3 separate regions of the Homo sapiens genome follow, and all the other regions are linked to region 2. Evidence: promoter capture Hi-C in 16 types of primary human blood cells and fetal thymus (Javierre and others, 2016). All regions are on one chromosome and are shown on one strand. The core of a region is centred on a gene start or on the middle of the fragment in contact, and the rest is flanking DNA. Distances in the headings are between cores, read along the strand shown.

The links. Contacts are between HindIII fragments. The CHiCAGO score rates a contact against its expected background, and 5 or more counts as called.
Region 1: a contact is called between a fragment that was not itself captured here and the fragment with the promoter of TMEM204 in region 2, in 2 of 17 cell types (naive B cells and total B cells). The highest score is 5.8, in naive B cells.
Region 3: a fragment that was not itself captured here is called in contact with the fragment with the promoter of TMEM204 in region 2 in 1 of 17 cell types (endothelial precursors); the score reaches 5.5 in endothelial precursors.

What each region holds. Positions count from the first base shown.
Region 1 is chr16:1,362,091-1,367,019 of GRCh38, reverse strand. It overlaps GNPTG (N-acetylglucosamine-1-phosphate transferase subunit gamma), which reads right to left. Exons shown (of 11, transcript NM_032520.5): 6 at 4,889-4,929; 7 at 4,700-4,814; 8 at 4,486-4,568; 9 at 4,278-4,409; 10 at 4,114-4,195; 11 at 2,907-4,023. The coding sequence ends at 3,929. UNKL (unk like zinc finger) reads left to right here. Exons shown (of 15, transcript NM_001372107.1): 15 at 625-3,815. The coding sequence ends at 780. Among named protein-coding and RNA genes, the nearest start is that of GNPTG, 13 kb to the right of the region's middle. The HindIII fragment of the contact is 4,861 bases long and covers 1,249-4,929 here.
Region 2 is chr16:1,532,332-1,537,106 of GRCh38, reverse strand. TMEM204 (transmembrane protein 204) reads right to left here and starts at 3,441. Exons shown (of 3, transcript NM_024600.6): 1 at 2,552-3,441. The coding sequence starts at 2,831. The region is part of intron 19 of IFT140 (intraflagellar transport 140); the gene reads left to right. RefSeq lists enhancers at 2,708-3,411, 3,412-4,115. The HindIII fragment of the contact is 3,167 bases long and covers 1,248-4,414 here.
Region 3 is chr16:1,680,755-1,685,197 of GRCh38, reverse strand. The region is part of intron 1 of JPT2 (Jupiter microtubule associated homolog 2); the gene reads right to left. Among named protein-coding and RNA genes, the nearest start is that of JPT2, 4.7 kb to the right of the region's middle. The HindIII fragment of the contact is 382 bases long and covers 1,390-1,771 here.

The DNA of each region.
Region 1 (4,929 bases), core at 2,430-4,929, 170 kb after region 2:
TGGCTGGTGCGGTGTCCCCTTCCTCCCCTGCCCCAGGGTCTGCTCCGGGCCTAGGGAGGAGGAGACGGTGCCCCACCCCAGCACAGCCCCCTGTGGCCTCCTTGCCTGTCTCCCTGGGAGCCGCCTTTCCTGTCAGGCTGGCCCTTGCCCTTTCACCCCTCCCTCTTGTCAGCGAATGCCACACTGCTCCCCGTGGCCCCATCCCTCCCTGTTCACAGCTGTGACCCTCACACATGACCCCTCCACTTCGGCGTGCCCCTCCTCACCTCGCCTGCTAAGGGTGGGCTCTTGGACTCGCTGCTATAGGACAGAGGGTCCTGCGTAGCCCACATCCTGGGCACCCAGCTGCCCTCAGGGGCCTGGCCTGTCTGGCCACTGCCGTGTCTGTGGTGGCCCCAGGAGGCTGTCCTCTGCCCAGGGCTCTTAAGACAGAGCATACCCCCTGACCCCGCAGCTGCCTTCTCCCTGAGGTGGCCCTGGCTGGGGCGTCTCCCTGACCCTGTCTCTGTAGCTGGTGGCCGGGCGGCCTGAGATGCTGAGTCCTGCCCGGAAGGCCCTCCGGCTCCCCAGCTGGCCCAGCCTGGGCAGGGGCCTCCTGAGCCCGTCATTGTTCTGGCCCTGCAGGTGATCTTCCAGCTCCGCGCCAAGCAGTGTGTGGCCTGCCGGGAGCGGGCCCACGGTGCTGTCCTGCGGCCCTGTCAGCACCACATCCTCTGTGAGCCGTGTGCGGCCACCGCACCTGAGTGCCCCTACTGCAAGGGCCAGCCCCTGCAGTGGTGACCTCAGCGGGGACAGCCACCTCCTGCTGGGCACCCTGGCTCCAGCGCTCCTCCTGACCACGGACATGTCGTCACTCGCTTCTGGTGCCACCGACGTGAGGACCGAGGCTGGGAGCCCTTCCTGTTACACGTTATCATGAGGCTGGGAGCCCCGCCTGCGCTTGGCCTGACAGCCTTTCCTGTCACACGTTGTCACCTATCTAGTCCTACCGACGGTTTCAAGGTATTTTCCTCAAAAACCTTAAATGCAAACCCACAGAACCCGCCTGCCTGTCCCTGAGGGGCCTGGTGCCTCCGGGATCCACGCGGCGCTGTGATCACAGCAGTTTGTGGTCCTGACACTACTGTGACTAGGCCACTGGGAGCTGGGGTCTTTCAAAGCACTTTGTAAACCGAGGAATTTAGTTAGAGGTTATAAATTGCTCTAAGCTGCTTTCTGTTTTTTTTTAATATGCGATAATATGAAGCTTTATATGTGTACTGTGAACTTAAATATTTCATATCAGTTTATTGTCAATTCATAGTATGCTAAATATATTAGATTTCATATTCTGAAACTAGTACTTATGAAATGAGTGTTTATCTAGTAGTAAGACCTAGGATTTTTACATTTTCCAATTAAGTGCAAATAGTATTTATAAGCAGAGTGATTATGGATTGAGATGTTTTTAACTTGATGGAAGGAGCTAGTTTTCCTGAGCCTGTGTGTGCACCAGGCACTGGGGCTGATGTTCCAGCCTCGTGGCGTGGGAGCAGGAGAGCTCCGTCCTGCATTTCTGTGGTCCGTGGCCGCTGTTTCTGTGCGCCTGCGCCTCGGAGAGCAAGTGAAGGAGCATCATGGGTTTTGTTTTCTCCCTTAACCCTCTGAAAGACAGTTTGATACTAACAAAAAACGCAGCAGAGGGGATCCGACGTCAGAGCTTTTAGAATTACTTTTTTAAGCAGCTGTCTTCTGGCTGGGTGCGGTGGCTCATGCCTGTGATCCCAGCACTTTGGGAGGCGGGTGGATCACCTAAGGTCAGGAGTTCAAGACCAGCCTGGCCAACATGGTGCAACCCCGTCTTAGTAAAAATACAAAAATTGGCCTGGCGTGAGAGCGGGCACCTGTAGTCCCAGCTACTCGGGAGGCTGAGGCAGGAGAATCGCTTGAACCTGGGAGGCAGAGGTTGCAGTGAGCCGAGATCGCGCCACCGCACTCCAGCCCGGGTGACAGAGCGAGACTCTGGCTCAAAAAAAAAAAAAAAAAGCTGTTTTCTGATTACTCAGAGCTGTCCTAGGCAATGGTGCTTTGTAGCTCCTTGGAGATGTCGCTGGGCGTCCTGGCAGGGGTCAGGCAGTGAACTGGGAGAGTGGTTGCCTCCCCAGCACCCGTGACCACCCTGGTCCTGCTCGTGTGGGAGATGCTCGGGCCGTGTGTGCGCCAGGGTCCGGGGTGCCGGGTGTATGTGGCAGTCACCTGACCCGCGCTGCCAGTTATCATCGGAGCTCATCCATGTGGCCAGTGAGGTCACAGGAGAGGACCCGGCCACAGCCTCTCAGTGGCCTGGAGCACACGGGGGAAGCGACCCCCCCCAGGTCCCGGCTCTGCTGTGGTCCCCTGTCCCGTCTGCCCCTGGAGCGACAGTGTGGTTTCGGCCGCAGCAGAAACGTGACTGAGAACGCATCCCCGCGATGACCTGACCCTTCTGCTCAGGGCTGGGACTGTCCCTAGGAGTTGAGCAGGAACAGGCATCTGTGGTTTACGGCGACCTGGCTCTCCGCGGGCCACGTGGGTGGTGAGGGCACACGAGTGGGAAGCGGCACCGACGTGTTTCTCCCCGACCGTGGCTTTGCCAAAGACTTTTAATAGCATTTTTTAAGTGCAAAACGTCTAGGTAAAAATCTTTATCATCAGTGACCAAATTAGAATGTATTTAATATAGTAGGTGGTTTAAGAACTGTTTTAACGTAAGACAAACTGATAGCAACATTCTGTTGTTTTAAAGGAAGTGGGTCCGTGACATTCTGCAGCTAGTCCACTACTCCAAGGTAACTATCGACTTGGTTTCAGTGAATCTATTTTGTTTTTAACTACAGTGATTTATTAGCTCAGTATCTAGAAATTACGTATATTTTGTGCTACTGTCATCGATGTGTAAACTCTGTTTTTATTTGTATTTATGCACTTGGTTCCCATTTGGAGCCTCTGGTCTTTTCTGGGATAAGTGGTGTCTGCCGAGACATCTCCCGGTTGTCAGTGGTCAGGAGCAGCTGAGCTCTAGTCTGCCAGCTGCTCTGCTCTTTCTGGGAAGGAGGTGGCGCCCGCCCCTCAGGGTGTCTCCAGGGCTCAGCTTCCGGGGTGGTAGAGCTGGGGAGCCCCAGGGGTGGGGGGACAGCTGGGAGATGGAGGTGGCACCTGCTCCCCTAGATCAGTACTGGCTCTGAGGACAGGTGAGCAGTGGGAAGACCAAAGAATGGCTGGCAGCGCTGCCAGGGTTGGAAATGGGGGCAAGATCCTGGGGCTGTGTGCCCTGGGGCCTCCCTCACCTGTCTTGGTGGCCATGGCCTCAGGGATGGCTCCTAGGTGGCTGAGGCACAGCAGTGGCTGGAAGGTGCCCCGTGGAGGCTGAGGTGGAGGCGCGCCCAGCAGCTCCCCCCTGTGGCCATGGCGGGCACGGGGCGTAGGAGCTGGCTGGCGGCCGGCTCTGCATGTTCTTGTTGCCTGTCGTCTGTAACTCTAGTGTTCGACATTCGCCGTGATACAGTGGTGTCACGACGTGTGTAACTGTGGTCAGCAGACCTTGTTCCGCGTGGACGCCTCAAGTGGATTAATTTCTGGAAGCCTCAATCTGTATGTTTGAGTATTTACATGAGAATGTTATTTGAATGGAATTTTCTTAACCCAGAAGGTAGTATTTATAATCATTTACTTGTAGCGAACTGTTTAAAGTTAACACTTGTTTAAATTTTTTTACACTATAGCATTTATGCAATGGTTTACAGAATTCATGGAGTTATTTTTATCAGTATGGGAATTAATTAAAACCTTGAATCTTTGTTTTGTCTGCTTCTCTGAGCACAAGCCTGGTCAGCTGGTCCCTGCGGGTCCTACCAGCCAGCTTCTCTGTAGGGCTCTCGGCCGCGTCCACCTCTGCTCTCCCACCACAAGGTCACAAACTCCCACGCAGTCCTGGGTCACCCCGCAGCTGCTCTGGAGACTTGGCTCTGGGCGTCTCGTGGCCCAAGTGCTCCAAGTTGGAAGTTTCTGCCAAAACACCAGGTGGCCAGTCCTCACCTGGACCCACAGGTGGCGAGTGTGATGGTGAGCCTGGCCCTCTCCCCACAGGTGACTCACCTGTGGGCCTCGTGTAGGGGATGCCGTGCTGGGTGAGCAAACCTTTCAGCCTTTTGATCTCCTTTGAGAGTTCTTTATGAGCCTACCAACCACAAAAAGAGTTCAAGGGAAAGCCCAGGTGCTGGAGGGCTACTGCGTGCCACCACCTCCCCCCAATACGGTACCTTCCTGCAGTTTTCCAGGGTCTCAAACCCCAAGCTGTCAGGACCTCCCTCCAGCTGGGTGGGTTCATTTTCTTCTGGGGTCTTTAAGTAGCCAGCATCCTCAAAAAGTGTCCTCAGCAACTTCTCATGGCCCTGAAGGTGGAGGATGCAGGGGCAGCACCCAGCTCCCAGCCAGGCCCACCAGGGGCCACCCCGAGCGCACGCTTACCTGGGGGGTGATCAGCTCATCGGCCAGGTCCTGCTCTACCTGGTCCCACTGCCGCTGCAGGGCCTCTGGCAGGGTTGGGTACACTGAGGACCCAAGAGAAGCCAGGCTCAGCTGCACCCCATGTCCCAACCCTGGCCCCCAGCACTACAGGGCCTCCAGCAGGGCTGCGTGCGCGGCTGACCCCACTGGGCTCAACTGCGTCCCGCACCCCTACCTAGCAAGGCGTGGGGGTGGCAGACGAGGGGGGTCTCGAACGTCAGCGCGTAGACGCAGGTGCTCGGCTCGGACACATGGGCCAGCCGGTTGCTTTTTCCACACGCCAGCTCCACCTGGGGAGGGAACGTGGGTAGGTGGGTTGGGGAGACTGGGGCCCCTCTTCCCGGGCTCCCGTCTGAGGCCCCACCTTGCTCTGCCGGCTCCGGGAACGGCAGGCGTCACCGTCCC
Region 2 (4,775 bases), core at 2,192-4,691:
TCGCAGCCCATCATACGTGCTGGGTGATTTTACAAGGAACACTGGCCAAGGCAGGAAGGAAGACGCTAGGAGCTGGCTGGACTCAGTGGGGTGGCCAGGCTAGAGCTGCTGCCCCCAGCCAGGGCTGACTCCCAGGCCTGCCTAGGTCACACGGCAGGATTTTGCAGAAAGGTTCATAGGCTAGCTTGATGTGCAGTGGTGGCAGGTAGCAGCCCCTCACCCGATTGGGGACATGGGTGCACGTGAGTGGGGGCAGCGAATGTTGCTGTGGACAGAGGGGCCACCCCGTGGGAGAGCAGCACGTGGGCTTGGAGAGGTGGGCACCAGTGCAGATGGACGTCGGTGAAGGAGAAGGCGAGAGAGGCAGGAGGAAGACACCAGCACGGCCAAGGGAGACTCTGGGCGCGTCCCCGTGTTGGGGCCTTGGGGGATGTGGTGGCTGCACTCCAGCCTGGGTGACAGAGCAAGACTCTGTCTTAAAATAAATTTTAAAATTAAAGAAAAGTTACCCGTTGAGCCTGTTCCTTTTCCTGAGCTGAGTCCCGTTTACAAGGAGCTTCCGTGACGCTTCCCTTGTGTGGACAAACCTTCGCTGCTCAGGTTCACTGAGGGTCAGCCACCTGCAGATGCCATACAAGTTGCAGGAGGATGTTGTAAATATTGTCCAAGGGGCTGACCAGGGCTCAGGGAGGAGCAGTGGACGCAGGCAGGTGAGCAGGAGGCAGTCCAGGGGGCTCTGTGAGGGGCCTCGTGTGTCCTGCTGGCCTGAGGTGAGCAGGCCTAAGCAAGTGGACAGCCGGGCGCCTGGGACGGATGCATAGGTCGTGCCAGAGGCTACACGCGGCCCTGTGACTGGAGGAACGCAAGAGGTAGCAACAGGGAGGGGCGCCAAGGCTTCCAGCTGCCCTGAGATTGGGCTGCCTGGGCCACCTGTGGGTGTTGGTGGCAGCAGTTAGGAGGCCTGGAGGTGCAGAGCTGCGGCCAAGGGCCGGCTGGGAACTCCCTCCCCCGGGGGTGCTCTGTGGGCTGGACGCCAGTGATGGTCCCAAAGCACATGAGCGCCCGGCCCCACCTCCAGGGGCCTAAAGCCGCTGCCCCCGCGAGAGGTTCAGCACAGTAACGGGGCTGCGGCTCCTTCTTCAGCAGAGCAGGCAGAGTCTGGAAGAAGGGCGCCTGGCCGGAGTCACGCGGAGACCCAAGCCTCGGGCTTCCCATAAGACACCGAGTTCTGAGAGCCGGTGGAAGCTTTGAAGTTATTCATAGGCTTTGATCTTTTTAAAAGACGGCTGTTGGTCCCTGCTGGTGAAGGATGCGAGAGGAAGTGCGCAGTCCAGGCTGTGCGGTGCAGCCGAGGGCCTTTGAGTGGACAAGGGGGTTGAATTCCCTCGTGGGACCTTGTCCAAGCCACATGCCTTCTGCAAAGCCTCAGTTTCTTTGCCTGTGAAGTGGGGATGACATTCCCCGCTGAGGGTTCTGAGCGCGGCAGGTTGGGGATGGAGCTGTGTGGTTGAGGCACACGTGATGTGTGTTACCCCAGTACTCCGGGACTCCCTCGGAAGCCTGGAGCAGAGGCACTGCCTCAGAGACCAGCATTATCTTCAGAGCAGAAGGAGCGTCCAACCCCGAGTCTGTGAGGCTCTGCAGCAGAGACTTGGGGTGTCTGCGAGTCAAAACCTTGCTGACAGTTTCAGAGAGTCGGCCTTTGGGAGACCTTGTGTCCCTGTGCCGTGACTGTTGAGATGACCCCATGGGCTGTAAGCGCCTTCCTATTTATGCAGCCTCACACCTGCCACTCAAACCCCACGGTGCGGTGGCATCATTCTGAGCCCCTTCCTCTCCTCTGCAACCACTGAGCATCCCTGTCCCCTTCCGAGCGTCCTGGCCTCCCTGTCTCCTTTCCAGCGTCCCATCTGAAGCTCATCCCTGGGGATCCTGCTGCTGCTCTCTGCCTCAAAGACCCCAACAACCGTGAGAACAAAGCCAGAACTCACCCGTGTATTTTTAAACTTCTTGTTTATTTTACTCATGAGTAAAGAAAGAGCATTTTCATTTTTTTTTTATGTTCAGAGACAGGGTCTCTCGCTATGTAGGCTAGGTTCGTCTTGAACTCTTGGCCTCAAGCAGTCCTCCCGCCTCAGCCTCCCAAAGCGCTAGGATTACAGACGTGAACCACTGCGCCCAGCCGTAATAATTATTTTCAACCAAGGAAAAATGCCTTTCCTTGATTTGATTAATGTACCCATCTCTTAACTATGTGTAACGGCAGAGAGGCCCCCCAAATGCCTGAGATGAATTCCTGTGTAAAAGAGCTGGAGGCAGATTCTGTGCTGAGCAGGAGGAGTGTGTGGGGCCACCACTCACCAGGGAGAGGGGGCCTTGGGGCCTGGTTCCCTGGGAGACACAGTGCCCCCTCCTGCCTGCCCAGAGGCCACGCTCAGGGCAGAGCAGGGGCCAGGCCTCCCCACCCGCTCACCAGGTCCGCGCCTAACATCTCCCATGTGCCCTCGAGCCTCGGCCACGCTGAAGGCATCAGGAAAACAATTGGACTTACGTTTGACGGTGCCTCGGGACTCCTGGAAGCCGGCTGCCTCGGAGCCCCAGCCCAGCGCCTCACAGTCATGTGCGTCCACCTGGCCGGCTCTGGCCCCAGGGCTCGGCCCTCCCCGGGTCCTGTCCACCAGCCAGCAGGACCTCCACAGCCCCACGCTGCGCCTGCGCCCATCCTCCAGCGTCTGGCACACCCAGTTGGAGGTGAAGGCCGCCACGTTGTTGAGGATGAGTGAGACCAGGGCCACCAGCACGGCCGCGGCCACGAGTCTCTGCACGGTCATCGCTGACGCCGGTGCCGCCGCTTATCCGGAGAAAGCCAAGTCCCAGTCCGCGGCCGCACGTCCAGGGAGAGCCGACGCTGCTAGGGGTGGCTAGAGGACATCACCACTCATCCTCGGGGCGGCGCGGGCGGAGGCCCATGGGATGGTCCAGGTGTGCCGCCTCTCGGCCCGGCCTTATCCTCCTTCCTGCACCTGGAGCAGGGCCAGGCCTGTGCTGAAGCTGCTCGCCTCGGGGCCCATCCCAGGGAGCAGAGGGTGGGCAGCAGCAAGAACCCAGGGCCAGGAGTGCGCCGTCTTCCCGGGAAGCGGAGGCCGGCCTGTGCCGCGCGTGCCTCTTCTCGCCTGCAGCAGTGGAAAACAGAGTCACTCGGGAGGCCGGCAGCAGTGGGAGTCGAGCCCGCGCCACACTCCTTAGCACCGGCCTGCTGTGAGTGCCAGGCTCCGGGCAGGGTGGCCGGTGTGGAGCGGGTTCACAGCTCCTCTGTGCTGCCTGGGCCCCTGTGTGGATGCCTCCAGGGCAGTTGGCCGGTCCTGGAAAGCAGAGTGGCTGCTGCAGGGACGCCCGTGTGCGCAGAGCTCGCCTTCCCTGGCTCTCAGCAGAGAGGAAATGGTTGTTTTTGAGACTGTTTTTGGTGAGCTGGAAGGCGTAGCCAACCGCAACAAATAGCGGCCCTGCCGCGGCAGCCAGACACCAACAGGATGTGCTTCCTGATGGGAAAGGCCAGGAGACTTCTGAGGCCCTGCTCCAGGCCCACCTCCTGCCGCCCCTCCCCATCTTCCTGTCCCAGAGGAGAGGCCAGGGATGCCGGGTGCGGGACAGATCCCTCGTCTCGCCTGTTGCTTTTAAGCCTGGTGGCCCCCGGGGCCTGGAGGCTGGTACTGAGCGACTATTGCCTGCCCTGGGGACTTCACACCCCCCAGCCATCCAGTTGCCCCCAGGACCATAGGTACCCCCAGGACCATAGGAACCACAAGCCTCCCCCCGCCCGTGTGTTCCAGGCCTGCCCCCGCCACGGGAATGCTGCCCTCAAAAGGGGGGCAGATATCACAGGATTGCTGGGAAGGGGAGAGACCCGTGTGCCTGGAGGGAGCAAGTTCACCCAGACCTGCAGGGCCAGGGACCTGTACTTGGAGGACCTCGGGGCCAGGGACCTGTACTTGGAGGGCCTTGGGGCCAGGGACCTGTACTTGGAGGACCTCGGGGCCAGGGACCTGTACTTGGAGGACCTCGAGGCCAGGTCATTCTTAGGTGGCAAGAAGGGTAAGATTCTGGATGTGCTGGGTGGGGCTCTCAGCGGGGCCTGGGACAGAGCGAATGTCACGTGGGGCCTGGGCCACCTCTGCTATTGATGGGAACGGTCACCCCCCACAGCTGGGGACAGGACTAGGCAGGTCACCTTGTGAGTGGTCAGGCTCTCGGGCAGAGCTTATGCTGCCAGGGAGCTCAGAAGCATCTTCGTCTATTCTGCTCAGAATTATTCTGCCCAGCTGGGCAGACACCACGAGAGGGTCTCCTACTCTGTCCCATCTCCAGAGACCCGAAACCCAGCATGGGATTCCCAGCCTACCCAGGCTCCAAAGCTTCGTGAATGCAGGTGTCCCACATCCGTGCAAACTGTTCATGGGCACACGCCCAAGACAGTGCTGGGACAGAGAGTCCTGTTCCCAGCCTGTGGTAACAGCAGAGCTTTGACCGTTTCCTGTCCTTGCACTGCCCGTGCTTGGGCCCTGGCTCAGGGCGGTCCCGAGAGCTGCCACTTCCTGGGACCAGTCTCCATTCACACGTTGGCATGTGGCTCTGTATATCCACAGGTGAAGCAAGGTTCCCCACACACGCCCTGTGTCTGTTCCAGAAAGGCAGCAGCTCCGTCCTCACCAGCCCGTGGTGCGTGCTGGGTCCTGAGAAGCGTTTCTCCACTGGCTTCCTGAGGGACGTGCCTGGGG
Region 3 (4,443 bases), core at 331-2,830, 150 kb before region 2:
CACCACCACAGCTGGCTAATTTTTTGTATTTTTGGTAGAGACAGGGTTTTGCCATGTTGCCAAAGTTGGTCTTGAACCCCTAAGCTCAAGTGATCTGCCCACCTTGGCGTCCCAAAGTGCTGTGATTACAGGTATGAGCCACCATACCCAGCAAAAGTATTTTCTTAACATCTACTGAGAAATCACATACCACCATTAGTTAATACTGGTATGACTAGTTTACAGACGCCAGACTACTTCTGCTGCTCTTTAGTTTCCCTTAAAAGTATTCTTTTTTTTTTTTTTTTGAGATGGAGTCTCGCTCTGTCGCCCAGGCTGGAGTGCAGTGGCACGATCTCAGCTCACTGCAACCTCTGCCTCCTGGGTTCAAGTGATTCTCCAGCCTCAGTCTCCTGAGTAGCTCAGATTACAGGTGCCTGCCACAACACCTGGCTAACTTTTGTTTGTTTTTTTTGAGACGGAGTTTTACTCTTGTTGCCCAGGCTGGAGGAATGCAATGGCGCAATCTCAGCTCACCACAACCTCCGCCTCCTGGGTTCAAGCAATTCTTCTGCCTCAGCCTCCCACGTAGCTAGGATTACAGGTATGCGCCACCACACCCAGCTAATTTTGTATTTTTAGTAGAGACGGGGTTTCGCCATGTTGGTCAGGTTGGTCTCGAACTCCTGACCTGGGGTGATCCACCTGCCTCGGCCTCCCAAAGTGCTGGGATTACAGGTGTGGGCCATCGCACCTGGCTCTTGAATCACTTTTTATTGTAAAAACTTAAACTTAAGAACTAATAAGGAATTGCCACAAAGCTCTATTTCTAGAGCACTATCTACATTAAAAACCGGTGAAACGCTGAATTCATAACAACTGGAAAAACTTTTAAATGCATTTGAGAGAGAGGCTTACTGAAATTGAGATTTAAACCAGTGAGTGGCACATGCTCTCTCACTAGTCCTAAGCAATGGGACTGTCTGTGATCCCAGACGTTTAGAAACGAAGTCAGCCCTCTGTATCCACGGGCTCTGCTTCCATGGATTCAACCAACCTCAGATCAAAATGTCAGAAATAAAAGGATGGTTGCATCTGTACTGAACATCTACAGACTTCTTTTCTGTCATTATTCCCCAGGTGATACGGTGTAACAACTATGTGCATAGTATTAGGTATTATATGTAACCTTGTAACCTAGAGATGATTTAAAAGCATATGGAGGATGTGCATAGGTTATATGCAAACATTACACCACTTTATATCAAGGACTTACACATCCTTGGATTTTGGCATCCTGGGGGTCCTGGAACCAACTCCCGCAGGATACCAAGGATGACCATACTTGAAATTACAGGGCTCAACATCACACAAAAACTATGATATGAGGTTAGATCTCACTGGAAAGCTTTGCAAACACTGACCACTCAAGGTTTGGTTAACAAAAATAACAGTTTCTCCTCAAAAGATCTAGAAAGAGCGCTGAGGGCTCCTTGTGACTGGATGTGAATGGAGTTCTCAGATCTCCTGCTATAAAGCAGGAAGGCAGAGAGTGCTTCAGTCTCCGCCTGCAGAGACCCACGGGCTGGCTACTGTACCCCAGAAACCAAGCGTGTGCTGGCCGACCTCTGAAGTGGTGCCCAGGGCCCCTGTCCACTCAGGAGGCTGGGGGAGGTGGATGCCAAACTTCCTGTCAGCAGTTGCCATTTCCTGGAGGATTTGAGGAGGGAGAAAAAAAAAGACAGGTGCACTTAAGAAAAATTATTTTTTAAAAATAACCAATAACCAAGCTTAAATGAGAAAGGGCTGTCCGGGAGCAGTACCTGGCACCTGTAATCCCAGCACCTTGGGAGGCCGAGGTGGGAGGACTGTTTGAGCCCAGGAGTTCGAGACACGCCTGGGCATATGGGGAGACCCTGTCTCTACAAAAAATACAAAAATAAGGCCAGGCGTGGTGGCTCACGCCTGTAATCCCAGCACCTTGGGAGGCCGAGGTGGGCGGATCACGAGGTCAGGAGATCGAGACCATCCTGGCTAACACGGTGAAATCCCGTCTCTACTAAAAATACAAAAAATTAGCCGGGCGTGGTGGCGGACGCCTGTAGTCCCAGCTACTCAGGAGGCTGGGGCAGGAGAATGGCGTGAACCCGGGAGGCGGAGCTTGCAGTGAACCAAGATGCGCCACTGCATTCCAGCCTGGGTGACAGAGCGAGATTCCGTCTCAAAAAAACAAACAAACAAACAAAAAATTAGCTGGGTGTGGTGGTATGCGCCTGTTGTCCCAGTTATTCGGGAGGCTAAGGCTGGCTTGAGCCCAGGAGGTCAAAGCTGCAGTGAACCATGATTGCATCACTGTACACCAGCCTGGACGAAAGAGTGAGGACTTGTTTCACCAAAAGGAAAAAAAATAAAGGGTGGTGGGTGGGAGGGCGTGGCTTAACAAGATTTTAGGTGAGGTGCTCTTAGAGTGGCCATAAGGCCATCTGACTTCCATATCCATTTTTGAATCACGCAGCCCTCCTAATTCTACATTTTTTTTTTTTTTTGAGACGAAATCTCGCTCTTGTTGCCCAGGCCAGAGTGCAATGGCACAATCTCGGCTCACTGCAATCTCCACCTCCTGGGTTCAGGCGATTCTCCTGCCTCAGGCTCCTGAGTAGCTGGGATTACAGATGCCCGCCACCATGCCCAGCTAATTTTTCTATTTTTAGTAGAGACGGGGTTTCACCATGTTGGCCAGGCTGGTCTTGAACTTCTGACCTCAGGTGATCCGCCCACCTCAGCCTCCCAAAGTGCTGGGATTACAGGCATGAGCCACTGTGTCCGGCCTATTTTATTTTTTTGAGATGGAGTCTCACTCTGTTACCAGGCTGGAATACAGTGACGCGATCTCAGCTCACCGCAACCTCCACCTCCCAGGTTCAAGCAATTCTCCCGCCTCAGCCTTCCGAGTAGCTGGGATTACAGGTGTGCGTCACCGTGCTTGGCTATTTTTTTGTATTTTTAGTACAGACGGGGTTTCACCACGTCGGCCAGGCTGGTCTCAAACTCCTGACCTCAAGTGATCCGCCCGCCTCGGCCTCCCAAAGTGCTGGGATTACAGGCGTGAGCCACTGTGCCCAGCCAATTCTGCGATTTTTCTTGGATAGTGTAGCAGGTCTAAACATGCACGGGTCTCTACAGTTCTCTCTTTGGAAATAAGGGATGAAGGCCTGCAATCTTTCGAACTGAACTGAATTTATCAAGTCTTATGTGAGCTGAGCATGAGCTATAATTCCTTTTACTGACTTATTTCAAATATGGCTTTTCTCTCAAGCCCTCAAGGTGCTACAAACTGTCAGATCTGATTCCAGGTAGACTCGCCTTGACTGCAAGCTCTGTAGGACTCTTTCCCGACCCCACATTCCCTACATTCACAGTCTCCTGTCTCCTCTGCCTTTCACCCTTGCTTCAGTTCAACTTGCACATCTCTCGAGCACCTATCATTGGCAATCCTTCCCCAGACGCCGTAGATAGAGGAAAGCAAGTCCTTACCCCGGAGGAGCTTCAAGTTTAAACAGGAAAGCTAGAGCTCTGCACAGGTGGTTTCAGTGTCTGTGTGAGTGACGTGACAGACGCCTAGTGCCATCGGGACTCCAAAATTTGGAAGAGGTGAAACCCAAATTGAGTCTGTGGCCTCCATGTGGAATGGGGACCAATGGGCGCAGGAGGTGAGTGGTAGTTACTTGCAATGACCAGTGTTACTTTGGGGTGATGGAAACACAATATTTAATATTGTTCTATGTGCTTTTCTGAATTTTATTTGAAAACAAGCAAAGAAAAAAAAGTGGTACCAAAGACGGTTTTAGCAGAAATTATGGCGCACACAGGCCCAGCCCCAGGCAAGGGGCAGCGGCTATCTCGGTCACAAAGGCAACAGGTCCCACTGCAGGTTTCACACAGACCGCAGGGCTGGGCTGCCTCAAAGGGGTCTCGGATGAATGGAACTGAGCGTTCAATAGACCTTTCAACAAAAACAGCCCGACAACAATGGCGCAGTGTGGCTTTCTCTAGGCTACAGGCACTTACCACTATGACACTAATAGGGGGAGGGGGAACGCTAGAGCTCACACATTTGGGGACAAATTCACAATGTGAGTGGGGGGTGCTTCCCAATTATTTTTTGCCTTTTGTGGTACCCCTTCCATATATTTCAGTGAAGATATTCAAAACACACAAGAGAAACTCAAGCGCACAGGAGAAGAAAAACCTCACACAGCTGGAGTGGACTGCAGCACTGGAGAGGTAGGGAAAAGCTGTGTGACCCTCCTCGGGGGTCTCCATGCTCCTGACCCTCTCTAATAGTTTGTCCCCGAGTTTCAGAAAGGATGAGGGGACTGGTCAGGCTTAGAGAGAAGCAGTGAGAAATAAACTTGGATTAAATTCCTTACAAATAGAAATGTTCCAGCTTGAAGGAAGACCTCA